Regions from separate parts of the Homo sapiens genome. Here region 1 is linked to region 2. The links are contacts of gene promoters, found by promoter capture Hi-C in blood cells and fetal thymus (Javierre and others, 2016). All regions are on one chromosome and are shown on one strand. Each heading gives the region's core, a stretch centred on a gene start or on the middle of the fragment in contact. The rest is flanking DNA. Distances are from core to core; before and after follow the strand shown.

What was found. The method cuts DNA at HindIII sites, captures the fragments that hold promoters and counts their contacts. A CHiCAGO score of 5 or more calls a contact.
Region 1: a contact is called between a fragment that was not itself captured here and the fragment with the promoter of VPS50 in region 2, in 1 of 17 cell types (naive B cells). The highest score is 5.1, in naive B cells.

What each region holds. Positions count from the first base shown.
Region 1 is chr7:94,400,411-94,403,899 of GRCh38, reverse strand. COL1A2 (collagen type I alpha 2 chain) reads right to left here. Exons shown (of 52, transcript NM_000089.4): 6 at 2,280-2,333. Among named protein-coding and RNA genes, the nearest start is that of COL1A2, 7.3 kb to the right of the region's middle. The HindIII fragment of the contact is 1,298 bases long and covers 1,353-2,650 here.
Region 2 is chr7:93,231,042-93,234,359 of GRCh38, reverse strand. It overlaps VPS50 (VPS50 subunit of EARP/GARPII complex), which reads right to left and starts at 1,994. Exons shown (of 28, transcript NM_017667.4): 1 at 1,860-1,994. The coding sequence starts at 1,892. It also overlaps a transcript of HEPACAM2 not described here. RefSeq lists enhancers at 1,474-1,533, 1,774-1,823, 1,914-2,083, 2,224-2,293. The HindIII fragment of the contact is 4,774 bases long and covers 1-3,318 here.

The DNA.
Region 1 (3,489 bases), core at 752-3,251, 1.2 Mb before region 2:
TTCCCCTTTGTTGTTTCCATAGCACAAAAGTAGGGTAAAACAGGCTGTTAATAGTTTGTAAGCTAAATACACTTTCTTGACTCCTCTTTGCAGTAATCAGTGCCTGTGTAAGCTCATCCGTAGGGTCTGTTCCTCATAATGCTGAAAATATTTCATGTACCAGTCTCAAGTAATTTGTTCATGACATCAGCTGTGGGGACTCTGCAGTCAAACCTACCTTACTGTATTAATGCCTAGAGTGAAATAACATGGATTTTATCTAAAATGTATGTCATTTTAATTATAAGAATTATTCATTTGGTTTTAGAAATTGCTCTGACATTAAAAGAAACTGTCACTTTTCCATCACAATAGCTTTTTAGGCATACATTAAAAAATAATTTTCTTTGACATCATGAATTTCTAATTATATTTATTTTTTCATGTATTTGCAACAATTTCATTTACATAAAATGTAGTGTATTTCATGGAGGCTGTGATTACTCATTAATTCAGAGAAGAACCCTGTGGGGTTTTATAGTTATTGATTTTCCAACATGGAAATTATTTTAATACTTTATTGCTGCCTATCTTCCCTATTTGTGAAACAGATATCTGTTGATTACATATGTCTGTGCATGTGTGTGGATGTGCAAGCTTAAATTATATTTCACTGATATTTCAAAGTAAAATACTCTGCTTTATGCCAAGACAGATGTTCCGAAAACAGGGGTATCTGAAATCCATATTAATTTTCCCAGCTTAGTGGGCTTTTTAAAAATGACATTTAGTAGCTCTTTACTTTCCGCCCCCTTGCTTCTTCTTGAGATGTAGGTACTGCTTTAAAACTGACTAATGTCCAGCATTAGCTGAAACAGCTAATTTCAAAAATCCAATATAAACAAAGCCAAAAGAAACACTCTACTTTTTCATTTCAGATATGAACATTTTAAACTACCAGAAAAAATTAGGGAATTAGAAGTCGTCAATTAAAGGTACATTATTTCTCAAGTGGGAGTTTTAATTTACAGAAAATATTATCTCACCCTTAGAGTATATTAGCTTACTGTGGGCCATTAGCTCCAGCAGAACATCTTCTTTTGAAGATAGAGCACTAAGTGCACTGCCCAGGTAAAATTTACATTTTAAAGACCTTGTTGACTTTGGGCAGATAAATACCTTTGTTTTGAAACAATTAATTAAAATCACTAAATTGCGTGTGTGTGTATACATTAAATTCTGTAGTGCTTAATCAACCTAACACTTTGACTTCTGGCAGTTTTCCCCTCTATTTCATATATGCTAGTATACATTTTGCATGCTCGTATTAGCATTTTTCCCTTCAAACTTCTCTCTAATGCTTGTTAGAAGCTTCATTTGTTAATAGTCATCATCATCATCATCATCATATAGGGAATGTTTCTAAGCGGTGCTCCACTGATAGGGTATGGTGCTGAATATTTGTACTGAGTGACATAAATGCTAGATTTTTACTCATACTCTCTTCTATATAGATTTACAATCAATAGACTAAAAAAGGATTTTTTTGGTCAAAATTCAGAAAAAGAAACATTTCCTATATTGTTAACTCCTTGAGGAAGGATCAGAATCTGTCATATTCCTTGTAATTTCCCCAGTTCCTAATACAGTTTAGGGCCCATTGAAGGCATCTGATTAATATCTGTTGACTAAATGAGTGGTTTATTCAAGGACTAGGTACATAAACCATGATGTAAGCAAATATTAGACATCTTGCCTGGCATCTAGTTCTAGTTATGTCATTAGTTACCTGGATGACTTTGAGAAAAGGGCTTAAACTCTCCCATTTTAAAATGAGTTAGCTGGACTAGATAGAACTTGTTGATCCTTTCCAACAAGTTCAGAGAACTTAATAAATAGTTCTATGCCTCTAAGTGTTGCTTAAAATTCTAAGCAATGTTAAAGAATATTAAAAAATTAATCAGAGTGATTACTGTTTTAAATTAAATTGATTTGCCCAAGTTATGGTTACTATGTCCAAAGATTATTTCTTGGACATAAGTATATGATCTATCTTAATGAGGATCATATAATCAAAAAGATCATATAATCATAAAAGATCAATTAATCTTTCTTTTGTAAAGAAAAGTGAACTCCTTAACTTATGTTTTCATAAATTTGAAAACAAAAAGAGTTGTTTTTATATAATCTAAGTATTGAGTGTTAACTTAGGTAGCTAAATAAATGGCGTGGTAAAATGTGACATAAAATGAATGATTTATTTAGCAATTTTTTTGGCTAAGATAAACAGATAAGCATACCATTGGTCCAGGGCCAAGTCCAACTCCTTTTCCATCATACTGAGCAGCAAAGTTCTAGAGAAGTAAAAAAAAAAAATTATATATATATATAAAATATTTTTAGTTACTAGTCATGTAGTTCATTTTCTCATTCTACTTGTAAATATTTTTCTGTTGTTATTTAAAAGAGGGCAATGTTTTTGATATAATTATTAGTTTAAAATTCTATATTGAACTAAATTCCTAAAAAGTTATGAGAGCTGTACGTCAAAAACTTGGCCGACACCTCTTTGAAATGGAGAACTTCCCTACTTTACTTTTTGAGCCCTTCCTCTGCCTTAACTCGGTGTCTCCACTCCCACCTTTTACCTCTACTCTGAGGAAGGGAAGCTTTCTAAACTTTTAATGTTACTAAGGGCTCCTGACAAATTAGACAGAGCTCAAGAGGACATCTTCACATTTTCACCTGTTGCCCTTCCCCACCGGAGCTACACAAAATGACTAAGAGATCTTTTTCTTGCTGGAGTTTCAGGAAGGGCATAAAGAGTTTTCAAGTTTAGAGGAAAATTAAATTAAAATACCCCTTGGAAGATAAAACTTCTAAAAACTAGTTCACAGTAATAACTTTACTGTTAAAGATCTCTCTTATAGTGGTAGCTCTATTAAAGAAGCTGCTTTTTAATGCAATTCATAGATAAGCAATCATAATAAGATCTTTGGGGGAGAAAGGTCTTATTTTACTGACATACAGTTGGGTATTAGAATCAGGCTTCTGATTCATAGTGCTAACCAATTAAGCAAATATGTTTTCCTTCCTGCAGTGAGGTCATTTGGCACTCATACCATTGTTAAAGACATGAAGCTAAAAGAAGATATTAATGAAAAAGGGAAATGTACTTTTCTCAAATTAGTTTCAAGCAAATTAAACCTAAAACCGCTTTGAATGTTGGTTCAGCAGACTTCAAGTCAAGGAGAATAAAAAGCGTAGGATGTTTGTAAAATTGCTTAAGATCAGGGATTTCACTTACACAGTTCAATCTAATCAAAATCCTTAATAATGCAACACCTCTTATTTGTGCCTTACTAATAAAAGATATTAAATCTCCAAATTAAATAATGGTAATGATGGCCACAGCTAACTTCAGTGCACACAAAGACCAGTCCTGTAATTGACAAGGGCTCACAAAGAGAATGGGTAAAGCAGAATCTTGAGTGAAAAAACCAAATAAAT
Region 2 (3,318 bases), core at 745-3,244:
TAAGCAACTGACTAAGGCTTAAGTGTTACCATTTTCAGCACAATTGCATTACATTTAGGAGACATACACTTATCACTGCTATCTGAAATTTTTTTCTCTCCTCAGTTTTACAAAATGAGGTCAAAAAAACTAAACCAACCACAGCTACCATACAATTATGACAACGTTAACTACACTGAACTGTATGGCAGGCAACAAACTTGAGACAGCATCAAACAGCTGATGCACAAAAGTCCAAATTCAGCATTCCAAAGGCAGTTTAGAGGTATTAGTGATATAAAGTACAAAAGTATATATTGATTTAAAAATCAAACAGGTACCGAAGTCAGCATGAACTTATCTATTGCTTGAATTACTGCAACAGCCTGCTTCCAATTTTCCTGCTTTCCCACCATCAACATAGCCAATGTAACTAACGGTCTCTGCGTTCAAGCACTTCCTTGATAATGCCCAGGAACTCCGTTAACGCCTTAAACTCTTTAACTTCATTATATCATGTAAACACCACTATCAGGCTAACTCCATAAGGCACACATTATTCCTATTTTAAAGATGTGGAAATAGATGCTTAAAAACGTTATGTAACTTGCCGAAAGTCACACAGCTGCCACAGGATACAGCAGGACCCAAACTCATCGTCAAGTAAGAAGTAGTAGGACGCACAACACCAGTACTCAACACATGTGAGGAATTAACAAATGTTACTAGCCACTTACTTAAATATTTTTATTATTCACAGAACATTTTGATTATATTTTCATAACATTAACAAAATGCTCTGACATAACTAAAATAATCATGTAAGGGTCATTTGTGCATTGTGCAAGAGAAATACACAATTTGTATCCTGTTTATATATCTCTCAAATTGTGAATTCTCAAATAAGAATGTGGAATTTGAGTTATTTTTGTAATCAACAAGAAAAAAACTCACAAATATACCTTTCACTAAACGATTACCTTCCACATTCTCCAAACTTCTAAAAGCCATGTTGATTTAAAACTCTAATCTTAACTATCTTTCATATTAAAATAATAAAATGACCAATTCTAGTGAAATATTAAAGCTGAAGTAAATAAAGGCAGCTAAAACAAAGTCATAATCAATAAGTACATAAAAGAAAATTTCTGCACTTCTTAAATGAAGCTGAGGCATTATTACGAGGTCCCTAACATTTATGAGACAGGTTACAAAATAGCCAAAGCTCTTATTCATGAATTTCCATTCTGGGGAAAAAAAAGAAAAGATCAGTATTTTGCCATGACAAAAATAAATTTTTTAAAGCAGAATTTCACAAAGAGTTTTCACATATATTAGCTTATCGATGACCCTCATAACAGAACTGTGAAGTAAAATGAACAAAAATAATTATTTTCACATCCAGAAACGTAAGCTACAAAGTTTGGGGACTTGCCCAAAATCCAAAAGCTACTAATTCTGTCTTCAAATCATCCGTTTTCAGTCTTTCCAGGTCACCTCTACTGCACAGACCACACCACCCTACCCAGGCTATCAGCTCGCATATGACAGACAGCCTGGATGCGGAAGACCTTGCAAGGAAGCTCGGGCTGTTCTGGAAAGACGGCAAAAAGAGGAGGAGGGGAGACAAAGATACCCTGATTCCTTCAATGACTTATTTTTAAACGAATATTTCTGGGAGGCTGGTACCCGCTGGAGCAGTGCTCCAACCCAGGCGGCCCAGGTGAGTTTTCTAGGGTATGCCCCGGCTTCCCAGTCCCCCTGACACCTGCCACCACCCATAACTTAGATCCCCGCCCGCCACTGGTTGGGGACAGAACATCTCGGCTCCTCTCACTTCCGAGATGAAGGAAGCCTTTGCTTCAGCCGCCGCGACTTACCTGTCGGGTCATGAGAGATTTGATTTTTTGCATATCGAAATCCTGAGGAGGGTACCCTGCCTCAAAGAGCTAACAAATCACACCGAGCCACTACACAGCTGGCCCTGACACTAGGAAGCCATAGTGGGTGGTCACGTGGAGGAGCCGACCCAGGGTATCCTGTCTTTCCCTGGGCCTGCTGGGAACTGTAGTCTTCTGGACGCCGGCGGTAGCAACGATGAACTAAAGTGGCCAACCCAGGGACTACATCTCCCAGCAAGCAAAAGAGCGGGTGCTTCAGTTAAGCCGGTAAATATTACTGCTCAGAGCGACCACTGCGATCGCCGGTCTTACAAAGGTGCTTGCACTAGGCAGTAGCTACTCTTCGGCGAGACGGAAACCTAAGTCACAGGTGACTAGGCGTTGAGCGAAAGATCAAACTCAGAGGAGACAATATATAAGCCAGATTGACGCGATGTCCCCTAGGAGTGTGAGGGAGGAAACCTCACCTGGTCTAGAGGGGCGGGGTGGGAGAACGAGAGACTGACGCGAAGGAGAAGGAACTCAAGAAAGGGCTGTCACTGAGGGGTAACCTGAGAACTCGAGACTACCCCGGGCGCGCTGGGTTTGGCCTGAGGAAAGGTGTGCTCTAGGTTGCCCAATAGGCGGCCCTCCAGGTTTAGGGCTGTTCTACCTCAGTCTTGGTATCCCCTGCAAAAGCTCTAAAATCGAAGGATTTTGACGCCCGCCTATTATTTTACCTCCGTACTCTAAAGCAGTGATGACGGGAAATACGACAATAACGAGTATACCTGTCACTTTAAAGTCCTCTTTTCAACTTTTGGCAGTTTAGTTAAATTGGGGAAAGGAACAGAAGTGTCTTTGGGGACACAATTTTAAAAGGACTTTACAATTATGAGAATATGAGAAGAAGAAGAAAAAGCAGCCCTAAAGCTAACAATGATAGCTAACACTTATCGAAAGCCGAGTACCTGTCAGGAACTGCTAATAGCTTTAAATATATGATTTCATTTATCCACACAAGAATCCTGTGGGTTCCCATTTTAAAGATGACGAAGCAGGTATGGCGAAATTAAGGAACTTGCCTAAGATTACTGCAGATGTGCAAGTAGAAACTGAAGGATTAATCGGTCATCAGATGTGTTAAGATTTTCATGTATTGTGCTGAAGAAAGTTCTAAAGCATGGCACCAATTTTTTTAAGTTTATTTTATTATAATGTTAACTTCTAAAAGTATGACACAGACCCATAATTTCAAAAATATTTCTTAGAATAAAAAAAGTTCAAGTGTGTCAACGTAATAAAAAATACTAGGTAAACAATAGTATGGGTGGTAGTCAGATATGGCAAAACTAATAAAGGTGATTTGCAAATGACTGAAGTTTGGGGGACACTAACAGAGGTTATTTCTGATTCTGAAATTCTATTTTCTCACCCCTTAGAGCCTCGTTTTATTAAT